Linked DNA regions of Homo sapiens: region 2 is linked to region 1. The links are contacts of gene promoters, found by promoter capture Hi-C in human tissues and cell types (Jung and others, 2019). All regions are on one chromosome and are shown on one strand. Each heading gives the region's core, a stretch centred on a gene start or on the middle of the fragment in contact. The rest is flanking DNA. Distances are from core to core; before and after follow the strand shown.

What was found. The method cuts DNA at HindIII sites, captures the fragments that hold promoters and counts their contacts. A contact is called where the count stands out against the background at its distance.
Region 2: a contact is called between a fragment that was not itself captured here and the fragment with the promoter of TENM4 in region 1, in 1 of the 25 tissues and cell types used here (dorsolateral prefrontal cortex).

Annotation. Positions count from the first base shown.
Region 1 is chr11:79,435,873-79,442,279 of GRCh38, reverse strand. It overlaps TENM4 (teneurin transmembrane protein 4), which reads left to right and starts at 1,250. Exons shown (of 34, transcript NM_001098816.3): 1 at 1,250-1,771. RefSeq lists silencers at 1,122-1,291, 1,552-1,661. The HindIII fragment of the contact is 13,466 bases long and covers 1-6,407 here.
Region 2 is chr11:78,644,294-78,650,700 of GRCh38, reverse strand. No RefSeq gene overlaps it. Among named protein-coding and RNA genes, the nearest start is that of NARS2, 73 kb to the right of the region's middle. The HindIII fragment of the contact is 3,185 bases long and covers 2,199-5,383 here.

The DNA of each region.
Region 1 (6,407 bases), core at 1-2,500:
CCACGTTTATAATCTGTGATGCCTTTATAATCAGCATATGGCAACTGGCTAGACAGTCTCCTCACCACACAGAAGAGTTTTCAAAATAGCCTACCCCTCCTTTCACATTTATGTGAAATTAGCATTGTCACATTTCCTCCTTCATTGACTACTTTAGATCAGAGAGACACACTGTAGCAGAAGATCATGAAGGAAGTTGTCTTAAAGAAGGAAACTAACATAAATTAAGCATCTCATATACACCCAGTGCTTTCTTTCCATTGTTCTCTCTTTTAATCCTCACCAAAACTGGTGAAGTCGGTATCATCCATTTTATAGATGAGAAAACTGAAGCCGGGTAAGGGGAAATGGCTCGCACTAAGTCCTTTAGCCAGCAGGCAGCAGGGCTGGAGTGGGAATTCCTCCAGTCTCTTCCCCAAAGCCCTTCCAAGTTGCCACTCAGTCAAACTACCGCTCTCATCACATAAAAATGCCCTTCTCTTGGAAATGTGCTTGCCATCACGATCCAAACATTCGAGGGACAGAAATCTCTTGGACCGCAATCACTGCTATTTTTTAAGTGATTGTTATCACGACTCAGTAGCTGTTACCATGGTTTTGGGGAAGTTGTCCGAGGAAGGAGGGCCTTTCTTTGGGCATCTTGCATGCCTGAAGAAGGAACTCAAGATCTCAGCTCTTAATTACTCTGATTGTGCTGCAGTAGCAACTTGAAAGAGACCGTCCCTAGAAAAGTGTTGGGGTGGGGGGTGTGGAGTAACATCCAGCGAGCAGGCAGAAGGGAGGCCCTGGGCGCCAGAGAGACCCAGGGAAAGGCGAAGAGGAGGGAGAGGGGACGAGACCGTGCTACGGGGAGCCTGGAGAGAAAGCCAAAGGAGGAGGAAAGAACAAAAGGCAAGAGGAGAGGAAGTACAAGAAAGTCCAGAAAGGAAAAGAGAAAGTTTCAGAAAGGGGAAGAGAAAGCAAGCAAGGAGGGTAAAAGAAGAAAGAGACCAGAAAGATACCGAACTGAGAGAGCTCGGAGAACTCGAGAAAGCAAAGGAGGTAAAAGGAGAGAAGATGGAGAAGGCGGCGGAGAGGAAGGGGGAAGGAGACAGAGGAACCGAGACTGGGGTGAGGGAGCGGCCGCGCGTGGCCCCCGGAGAGGCGCCCATCACCTGCGTGGCGCCCCCCCGCGCCGGAGTGCGGCCCTGCTCCCAGCGCCAGTGCGCCGCGCGGCTCGCCGGCCTCGTAGGATTGGCTACCGCCTCCCATTCATGTAACCTGCGTGTGCGTGTGCGTGTGTGTGTGTGTCTCTCTCTCGCTCGCCCTCTCTTTCTGTGTGTAAGAGAGCGAGGGTGGGGGACGGAGGCAGGCAGGCGAGCAGGCAGGGAGGGGAAGAAGAGAAGGGAAGCTATTAAACACACACACACACACACACACTCACACACGCGCGCGCACACACCCGCCCCAACCCCCCAGAAGCCTCGGGATTGCAGCTGTTTCATGTGGGGCAGCAGTGCTGGCAGGGACGCCGGCCGGGAGCGGCCGGGAGCGGGAGCCGGTCGTGCGCGCGCGGCTGGAGGCTCGCTGGGGCTCCGCTCCCCGCGGGAGCTATTGTTGGTCTCGCTGGAGCTGAGCGCAGAGCCCGGACCTGCTCCTTCCTGGGCGCCCCGCTACGGCTCGCGGAGCAGAGGAGCCGCGCCGCCGAGAGAGAGAGGAGCCACCGGCGCGGCGCCTTGCCTCCCTGCCGCCGTCCTCGCCGCTTCCCCGGCGGTAGCAGCCTGCAGCCACGGTAAGGCGGCGTGATCCGCTCTACGGAAAAGCGCCTTGGGGACCGCGGCGACGCCTCGCCAGCTCCATCGCCCTCTGCACTGCTGGCCCGGGCAGGGTTCGGGTAGCTCACGCGGCTGCCGAGGGCTCCGGGAGATGTTTGCTTGCTCCCCTGGCCCAGGAGGAGGGAGGCTAGGGCGCGGGTGGCCGAAGAGGCAAGCTGTTCTGGAGCCTGGAGCCGCCGCAGCCCCCGGAGCCCGCCGCGGACTGGAGCCTGGGAGCAAGGGTTGGGGGAGGGCAGGGAGGTGGGAAGCGGGTGGGAGGGAGGCGGCGCGCCCCAGGTTCGTCTGCCTCTCCCGGATCCCGTTCCCCGCCCCGGCCCGGTCGCCTGCAGCCCCTCTGCAGACTAGCTCGCCCCAGGCCCCCGTCGGGCGCTGGAGGAGCCCGCGAGGCGGCGCCGGGCTTCAGCGGCTGCAGCCTGCCCTGCGGGGCAAGTGCCGGCTGCAGCAGCCCCGCACGGGCGGTGGTTGGAGCTCAGATCCTGGAGATGCGACCCCAGCTCCTCGCCCTCTGCAACCCGCGGGGCGCCCGCCTCTCCTCACCGGGCGCCCGGCCGCGGTATTGATGTTCGTCTAGGAGCCAACTGAGGCTGCAGCCGCCAGATGGACGCTTGGAGGGCTCCCGGGTGTGAGTGTGACTGTATGACTACTCTCACCCCCAGCTTCGGGAAATGTGCTCTGGGTTGAAATGTGATCACCGAGCTCCTCAGTCATTTTAATTGCCATTTTTAAATGCGGTCGTTACATTGGAGGAGCAGACTGGAAGGTAGTGGGGCGGCGTGTGTGTGTGTGTGTGTGTGTGTGTGTGGACACACACACGCAACCGAGGAATACACAACCAACTACTTGGGTGAAGGGCGGGGGGTTCACCTAGTGAGTCCTTCTTGGCGGGGGGGTCGGGCGAGTTAGCTGCCCGCTGCCCGCCCCTTCTCTGCCTGCCCCCGCCTAGGCGAGGTTGGAAAGTACTGGAAATTCAGCTGCGTGGTCCTTAACTTTGGAAATTGGCTCCGCTTTCAGGGCAAAATGTTAAGGCGATTTATGCACCCGCGTCCATGTGGATGAGTGTATTACTGCTCAGTTGGGTGCAGAGCCCTCAACAGTACCGCGCCAAGCCCCCACCCGATCTCTAACTCCCTCCCACCCCCTAACCGTGGAGAGAGGGTTTATAGAAATGCAGTTATCTGTAAACCATCGACGCAGTGAAAGGGGCGCAGGGAGGCAGCCAGAGTTTTGCCTGAACCTGCATACTGGCTTGGTGTTTGTAGCACACGAGATCACCCCGCTGCTTTGTAGAAGGCGGTGGTGGGGCAAGCTCGGGATTCCAATCGCCGGGGTGGGGGGTGGGGGGAAGAGGGTGCCCATGTACTGAGCTCTGAGGCCGAGTAAGGAGAGAGATCTGCTGAGCGGCATCGCGGGCAATTACATAAGCTGCCTCGGTGATTACCCGGAACTGTGATGCGAGCTCCCGGTTCTCGAAAGACAAGCCTGAAAGTTTGCCTGCTTGGGGAGTGTAAGTACCGGGGCGCCCCCACCCCGGCCTGGGTAGCTAGGATACGCCTCGCACCACGGCGCCCACTTGTGCGATGGGCGTCGGGTGCTGATGCTGCTGTCCCCAAAGAACCGGTTACCGAGGCAGGGACTAAGTGGGGGCATCCGGAATTGATCGCAGAGGAGGAGTCAGTCAGAACTGAGGTTTCATTGGGTCTTCAGAGCTCCAAGTCTTCCCTCGGAGGTGTTGGAAGGCCTTCCAGGGAACGCCGTTTTCAGAAACTGACTTGGTGTCCTGGGGAGCCCCAAAGCCCCTCTTTTCCGCCCTTCCTGGGCGCCCCTCCTTGTCTTTCAAGCCCTGTGCCCTTCACGTGTTTAGAAACCTGCCCGCGGTGCCTGGTCCCCCTTGGAGATGCCCAGGCAGCCCAGCCATCCAGGCCCACGCTGGCGAGGGGTTAGAGGGAGTAGAACGCTGGCTCTGCCGGGCTGCCACCCTTACCTACACCTATTCCTGGTTTCCTGCGCTAGCCCGGCGCTGATGGGGACGGGATGGGGCTGGGGTCGGGTATGGCTTCCGTTCCTTCGCCTCTCGCCTCTGCAGACAGCAGTTTGCTTCTGTTGCGTTTATTCTCCCCGTTTCGCCGCTTCCCTCCAGCGCCGCAGCCTGTGTATCACGTTGATGGGCTTTGATAGAGAAACCACAGTAAGAGTATGCTTTTAAATCTTGATTTTCGTCTGTAGGGGGATAAGCCACCCCAGCCCTGACACAGCCGTGGGGAACGCTGAAGTCTGGGACACATTGGCCCTGAACTCCCTTCCCCCCAGCCCGCAGTCAGGAGATGGTGATGTGCATGGGTGGGGAGTGTTTTGTTTTTGCCACATTCCAGCGTCCTGAAACCTCTCGTCCCCTCCCACTGAAATCCCCGATCTGTCTGAATCTGTTCCTTGCTGTAAAATAAATCCTCCCTCCCGCAGACCTGTGGGGCCCTTCGGATTTCCTGCCGCTGCCATGATCCTTAACAATGCGATTGAAAAGCCAGTGCTCGGCTGGAAAAAAATCCCCAGGTGCCAGCCGGCCGCGCCTTGACCTTGCTGAAGGAGCCTTTAACCCGGCTGCCAGAGGGGCTCTGGTCCAGCCGTGGGAATCCAGGAAGAAGGAGGGCGCCCCGGAGGCGGCTGGGTTAGCTCCCCGGGCAGGGCGGGAATCAGGTCGCGGCGGGGACCGCAGAGGGGGAGGGGACGGGACTCCGCGGCAACCTGTTTCCCGGCGAGCCGGGCCCGCGCATCCCAGCTCCCTCGCCCCAGCCCCTCGTGGCCCGCCTCCCCCGCCGGCCTCCAGTTGTCTTCGTGGTACAGGAGTCGGCCGCGACTCCCTCGCGCTCTCCGCCGGAGTCCGCGGGACGCCGCCAACTTTGGGCTCCTCGGTGGCCGGAGCAGCGGTGCGAACCAGCGGGGCGGCCGGGTGGGCGGGGCCTGGGCGGGAAACTGGAGCCGAGAAGACCGCGTTCCAGGCCAAGTTCCAGCCGCAAGCGCCGCGCGGCACAGTGCAGGGTCCCGGCCGCGCCTTTCTCCCGTCCCCGGCCCGGCCGCGTTCCTGCGGACTCACAGCGCGCTCCGGGCGCTCTGCAGTTGGGCTTTCAGCGGGGGAGCCCTTCTCGTCAAAGTTACGAGGGGTGTTTTCACTGGTGGTGACAGTGGGAACTAGTTTTCTGCGCGCCTGTGTGTGTGTGTGTGCATGTGTTGGGGAGCAGAGAGATTTGCAGCGAAGTCACACATAGCACAAAAAACAGGTTTCCCCTTTCCAGGTGTTATAAGGGAATGCTGAGGAGGAATCCGTTTTCTCCGGTGAGGGTGTTGACGGGAAGCCCTTCCACTTAGTGGAACTGGACCTGTTGGAGCTGATTGCCTGGAGTGAACGGGTGTCTCCTTTAGCGGCACCTGTGTGCCGTAGGTCCTTGGAAATGTTTGGGGAACTGAAAGTCCTCAAGATATTCAGCCAGGACTTAGGGCATAGATGTTTGTGTGCTTTTAGGGGGCTAATTCGGGGAAGCTTTTATTTCCAGCATGTGTCTTGAACTGAGGGGAGGGCAGGGTGCGGAAGGCTTGTGGAATTGCCATCTTCTGTGGTGGGGGAAGGGATCAGGGACGGAGAGCTTTGGTTTTCTAGAAAGAGTTCTTGGGTTCTTCCTCTGCTCTCATCTTGTTTTCATCAAGGCCTCTGTTTGGGGGTGGAGGTAGAGTGGTGCGGTAAGCGGATCAGCCACCCTAATAGACCGGCCTTGACCAGTGCGGATGCCAACGGGCAGAACTAGTGCTTGGTCTGAACAAGAACCATCAAAGGATAGTTCTATAGTGAGTGGAGTGACCTGGAATATGAGGTAGAAGGCTAGGTGTTAGAGTAATGGGTTCCCACGGACTCTCTTCCAATAGAATCTGATTCTATTTGGTATAGTCTCCTCAATCTTTTGTGGTTTTGTGGGAGTAAGGTGATAGGATGTGACTTTAATCTCTTAACTATTGGGTTGGAATCATGGCTCTGTGGCCTTAGGCAAATTGTCTTTGGAGCTTCAGTCCTCTCCCCTGTAAAATGGCACAATATTACTTAGTTTGCAACACTGTCAGGGTTTTTTTTTATGATCCAGTCTATAAACTTTATTCAGATTTTTCCAATTGTCCCAATAACGTCCGTTATAGCAATAGAAAATCCTGGCTTATGAGTTCATTCAGCTTTTCATGTCTCTTTAAACTCTTTTAACCTAGAACATTTCCTCATCTTTTTAAATCTTTCATATTATTGAACACTGTCAGTTTTAACATCGATAAGGCCTCTGGCATACTGTGGTCCCTTCACAGATGCTTGTTCCTTTCTACCTCCTTATCCCCTTCCAGGAAGCATCCTGCATTTGTTGGGTGGAGATTGGGCAGAGAAATCAACAGCCCCGAAAGAACCACCAACCTTGCATCCAGCCTATTTAAAACCAGCTTCAAATGCGTGAAATGAAAATTTCTTTTCTTTTCTTAGGAAAGTCATTTCCAGTTTTGTTAGAATTTGTGCTTCATTGAGTCCCTTTTTCTGACAGAGTTGCATCCTCATGCAGATTGACATGTTAC
Region 2 (6,407 bases), core at 2,542-5,041, 790 kb after region 1:
CTCAGGAGCAATGCAGCCTTAAACCCAAGGAGAAGAACAGAAGCATTCTCCTATCTGCCCTGTAATCTGCAAGCCCATCCTGTCCCAAAGAACGTCAGAAGCTGCCATTGTATGTAGAGCTTTCAAAATAAGCCCACTCCCAGGACTACCAGAGTTAGGAATTGTACCCGTTACCTGGGCCAAGACGCAGTAGAGCTTTGAAATTCCTTCTGATGAATATCTAAGTTCTTAGGGTAACAACCTATGATATGAGAATAGAGGAAATGGGGTCATTCTTTCAGATTCGGATATTTATTATATGAGTGAGTAAATGGATGAGTAGAGAATGGATGACTGTATGAATAAACACCATAGCCAGGCCCTTGACAAGGCCTGGAGGAGGAATTACAATCAGTCAACAGCCATTTAATGAGCACTTCATATATACAAGATCCCAGCCTAAGCAGCCTCAGAAAACCTGAAGGTGTAAGACAGGACCCTTTGCTGATAAGCATCACCACTCAATCAGGGAGTCTAGAAAGATTCAGAAAACAGACTCTGTGATACTAAGGAGCATGTGCTCTCTGTCACTATTCCAGAAGCCTCGGCATCCAAGCTTGCTAGAACCCAGAAATCTCAGAGAGGTGGCCTGAGGCCCACCCAGTGGACTCAAGAGGCTCCATTAGCTTGAGCTCAGTCTGGCGTCTGAGACATTGCCAGTTTTACAGCAGCCAGGGCTCCAACACTACGGAGTGTGAGGGTGCAGACTGGATGGTACAGGAGCAGAATTCTGTTGGCAGCAGAATCCCATCAACACCCAAGAGTCTGGTCCAGACCCTGGAGGTGTCAGTCTAGGCAGAGGGGCTAGAGGAACAAGCAGGGCAAGGTGATAACGTGGCAGTGAGATGGACACAAGTGCCCTGGTGTCCACACTCGACTCACATGGGTTTGGTGGTGGGGAGAACCAAGCTCTGGGGGACACAATCTCATCACCTGCCCATAGCCATGATTCTGTGACAGCAGGACCAGCCCCAGCCCCCACGTCCTGCCCATGGCTAAGGTTCCTAATGTGCTCTATCAGCCTGTGATCTGGGCTAAAAACTCAGCGCCTCCAGCTGGCTTGGGGGTGGAGAGAGGGGGAGTACCCAAGTGCTAAGAAAGTAGCTCCAACAAAACCTGCTTTCCACGGTACCAAAGGAGAACTCAGGGAGGGCTGAGTGAAGAGAGGAAGGAACCCGAGAAAATTTCCTGGAAGAGGTGGATTTAGTGAGAAAAGATCAGGTGAGAGGAAAGTGTGTTTTTCATGTGGACCTGGGGGAGCCTGGGCCTCCGAGCCTCACTTCTGGAAACCAAGTCCAGTAAGCATGAAGCCAAAATTTCCTGGGGCTCCAATCCAGCATGTCTCCACTTTTTTCACACTGCAAAACCCACAATGGTTGATGTTTGATGTAGGACCCACTCCCATAGGTATGCCTAGATTTGCGATGACGTGGGTGGCGGTGATCTGCAAATCCCAGCACGCAGGAACACCTCTTCTTTTTCCCCCACTCATAAAGCATCTCAGAATGCAAGCAAGAAAGAGAAAGATCACGTTACAGGGACAATTCTGAAGGCATGCTAATTTATAGCAAAAATAATTTGCCAAGTAGTACTTTAGTATTCATAATGACTGACTCCTGGCCCATTGCTTCACTGTTTGTAGTAACACAAAGACCAGGAACAATTGCTACCTCCTTTTTTCTCCTCTTTCTGTTGTGGGTCAGGGAGTTCCCCATAAACAGATCCTGAGATAAGGATGTGTCTGAAAGTAGGTTACTAGGAAGTGGTCCCAGGGAAAATGGGTACACAAATAGAGATGAGGGAGAGGAAATAGGGAGGGCCGATCAAGGGTGTGAAAATCCAGCAAAGTTCCAAGAGAATAATTTTGGCTAAGTCCTGCAGGAGAGTTGTGGAAACATAACAAGTCACACCTGGGAGTTTTCCCCCTGGGGGCAGGCAGCTGGGCTTTTGACACCTCTGCACCTGCCAGTCATCAGTTAAGGGCTGCTCCTGGGACTGTCTTTACCCAGGCACTTCTGGCTCTCCGTGCACTCAGGCAAAATGAGCTCTGGCAGCCTGAGGACAGCCTGCCTACAAAGACTCCCAGGTGTTAGCTGCTGGGAATGAAAGCACACAGGCTTCATTCATTTCCATCCAAGAGGGTTGAAGGAGTCTCACAGCATCTACTGAAATCTCATATCCTACGCCGCAGTAGGCACCTAGTAAATGCTGGTTGCTTATTGGCTAGCAAAGGATGCATCCAAGAGAACAGGACACAATAATCACGTGCATTAAAGCTGACGCGGGGTGGGGGGACCCCACCTATTTGGTTTACCACCGTATCCCTGGTACCTGGCACAGGAACCTTGTACACAGGTTTGTTAGATAAATGATAAATGGATCTCCCCATGGTGATGTTGTTATCTGAGAGCTGCTCCAGGTCTCCCTAGTTCCCCCCATCAGTTCTTGCCTGACTCAGCTGATGCTGCCTGAGACCACAGAGCTCAGGAGGAGCTCACTGGGGCTTCATCACATGGTGACCCACCTCACTGAGCAAGTGCCACCCAACTGTTAGGCCCAACATCTGCCCTGTTCTCTCTAATCAGATGCTTTTGAGGACAAGCAGTGTGGCTCAGTAGACACGATAGGTGTGGGCTGCAGACCCAGTACTTCCTACATTTAATCTCATTTGAACCTACAACAAAATTCATGGTAGGTATTATTACCTTCCATTTTGCAGATGAGCTTTATAAGACCCAGAGATGGTTTGTGCTATTAAATGATAGAATCAGCATCAGTCCAGATTTACCTAACTCCAAGTTCTAGGCTATCGATCTTACATCTTAAAGCTCAGGAGTGAGGGAGTTTCTGATGTGACAGGCTTCATACATTGACATCTGAAGATGGACAACCACCTTTCCAGTGCCCAGAAAGTCACCCATCCACAGGCACAAGGCTCACCTGAGACTTCGCTCAACTCCAAATTTAGGGCTGGCTCCAAAGGCGTGCGACCTGTGTAGTCACACAGGGTCCTGCGCTTAGGGCCCACTCTTGGTTTAATGCTCTGCTGTTGCCATCTTGAAACACTTAATTTTTGAACAAGGTCCTGTGTTTTCACTTTGTACTGGGCTGTGCAAGTTATGGAGGCAGCCCTGTCCACACTGCTTACCCAGTGTGAACAAACTTTCAGCATTCTAGGACATTCTCAAGAACCTGAGGCAGAGGATGAGCCCTGGAGCCCCCCAAATGGGTGGGGAAGCTGTGGGCAGGAAAGCCCTTCCATACATGTTGGGTCAGGACTGGATAGAACCAGCCGAGACCTTCCCACCAGCTCCAAGCCAGGAAACCCCCACTCAGTGGTAAACATCTAAGTCCATTAAGTGGCAAAGACTTGGAGCACAGGTAAAGACTGTGGGGCACAAAGAAACTACAAACCTGTTCTGCCTAGGGGAGGATAAATCAGGAGAGGCTTCTAGAGGAAGGCAACCCCTTAACTGTTCAAAGAAAGAAATGAAGAAGAGCATTCCAGGTGGAGGGTGTCGTAGAGTTAAGGTACCAATGTGTCCTGCGGGTGGCTTGGCATATCGTGGGGGAGCCAGGGGAGGGGCCTTAAGAGTTAGGGCTGAACAGGTGGGCAGAGGCCAATCAGGTAGACTTGACTTTTCCTCCTCCTCCTCTGGTTTTCTTAAATATTCATGCACACACCATGCACATTCTCCTGGGTTAGTCTCCATTTCCACCCAAAATCTTGCCAGATGGCTGGGAAGCATTTATATGAGAAGCTTTATTTTCTCCAGCTAGGCGTTTATCTGCTCTTCCACTCTACTGTACAGGACAGGTGATGTATTAACACACCCCTGATTTCTTCACATTGATAACGCCACCTAGTGGCCACCTGTCACACTTTCCCATTCCTCCAAATTGATAGGCAGAAAAACATGGGTGAGATCAGGTAAGATCATGCTCATCCCTTGTCCTGCTCCTGTACTTCCTAGAGTTCAGACGACCTCCATAGGAGAACCCTTTCGACCTGTACAACAGTCCCAAGGTTCAGCAATGACTCTCAGATGATGCCCTAAAAGCACCTCACACTCTCACACCAGAAAGGAAAAGCAGGAAAATTAGCTCTAGCAGTCCCTACCTTCCCTCTGCTCCCTGGGCCAATGTGAAGAGGATCCTTCAGTTCTGAATGTGGTGCCCCCAGCACCATACAGACAACTACAGAGGCTGCTGCTGTGCCTGAGGTTGGAAAAAGGTGGACAAAACAGCACTCACGACTCATGGGGCTTGGAGAGATTTAACTTAGGCATCTTTAAACAATCAATGATGCTAACAGCAATAACAAGCAGAACAAGGAGGAGGAGAAGGAGCTATTTCTTGAGAGCCATTCCCTCTATCAGACAACCACACTAGGCCTTTTACACTTCTTCCTTGAATGCATTTTTGTAAGTTCATTAAATCTTTCCCACTGCAAGGAAAGCTTCAGATGGCAATTAACATGTACTGGGTGCCTACAATGTGTCAAGCAGTTTCCTAGGCACTTTGAATGCATTTGCTCATTTATTACTCACCACAGTACAACAAGAGAGGTACTGTTAGTATCCAATTTTCAGGCGGAGAGGCAGGCACTTGCCAAGGGCATGTGAGGTAGCAAGCAGATGGAACTGGGAGTTGAAGCTGAGCAACCTAGTTCCAGGCTTGCACGATTCATCACTACCCAGACTCCCTCCTAGGCTGAGACAAAAAGAAAATGTGTACACCCTGTCCTGGAATTTACTGGTCTACTTAGGAAGAGAGATATATAACTGAAGATCCATAAGGCATTCACTTATTTACTCATTCTGCAAACTTTCCCTCAAGGACATCTTACACCAGGTGTGGATGAGTGTGTAGGTGTTAATTCCCTCAGTCTGGTGGGAAGAGAAGCTAAGCCAGGTTGTACCTGCACACCAGTGATTCAGGATGAGGCAGCAGGCACTGGGACTCACGGGATGAGAAACAGAGTTTGGGGACAGCTGGCCAGGCAGTGCCCAAGCCCTGGTCTAATGGGGTCTGAAGAATACCTCTCTGCCCAGCAGATAAGGAATTCTCAGCAAACTGCTAGCCCTTATTATATCTAAAAAGCTCCACCGATTCTCTTCCTTTAGCTTTATCCCTCCTACCTAGGAAGAGAAGGTGAATACTGTCTGATGGGTGGTCAAGCAGGACCTAGCCTCTTGCAGCAAAAACAGAACTAGCTCTTCCTGGGTCCAAGGCTCCAGATAAACTGGCCTGAGCTGCCATCTACCGGCCAACTGTGCACACTGCAGCAGATACTGCCAAGGCCACCTTCTTGACCAGGTGCAGAGGGATGGAGGACTAAGGTGGCTGAATTCCTTAACTGTTAAGACAGGGGGAGGCTGTCATCTCCTAGTGTGTTACAAACAAAAGGAGACTGAGACTCTGAGAGGTGGCACAAGGTAGTAATCATTTCCATTGACCATTTGCCAGGCACTGTGAAAAGCACTTCACATTGCTCTTCTAATTGAATCTTAAGAATCTCGTGAGTACTATTACTTATCCCCCCTTTATGTGTTGTGTTTCTGAAGTCTCTCCATTCTATAATAGTTTTCCCTTCTTTTTAATGCTATTTATTTATTAAAGAAAAAGGTTATTTGTACTCCAGGATATCTCACAACCTGGATTTAGCGGCTAGTTCTTCATGGTGTCACTTTACTTGTTCTCAGGCCTCATAATTCCTAGAAGCTGGCATGTAGCACTAAAGGCTTAATTAAATTCAGGTTCAATTGTTTTAAGCAAGACTAACTCATAGGTACTTTCTATTACATCTAATGGGGGACACATAGTGTTTGATTATTCTACTTCTAGTGATAAGATTTGGTGACGTTAAATAAAAAAATGCTGACTTCTTAGTCTATTATTCCTTCATTAACTGGAACTCTTCTTTAAATAAGTAAAATATCCAAGTAAGTGGAGCAGTTAGAGAACCTGCACAGGCTGCATAGAGCAGCTATGTGGAGCCGAAAAGCAAATAGTGGCAGCCAGATTGGAGAAGAACAAAATTTGGAGGGCCACTGAACTGGCAGAATTCACCTCCCTTTTCCACTCTGGTATCCCCACGCCTTGACTCAGGTAGTTGAAAGTCCAGAGGTGCGCATCCAAAAGAAACCTCTATTTCACCTCGAGGAGTGGGAAGGGGCCCCCTGAGAGTGGCAGCATTAACAGCGGAGGCCCATAGACATGGGGGAAGCTTCTCTCTGATTGGAGGAGCGGGGGTGTCAAGAGTATGGGTGAACCTCCACTACATTTTCTCTCTGTCCTTTCACCAATTGGTCCTAGATGCAGGTGCAGTAGCTGCAGCAAGTGTGTGTCAGAGAGAGGCAAATAAA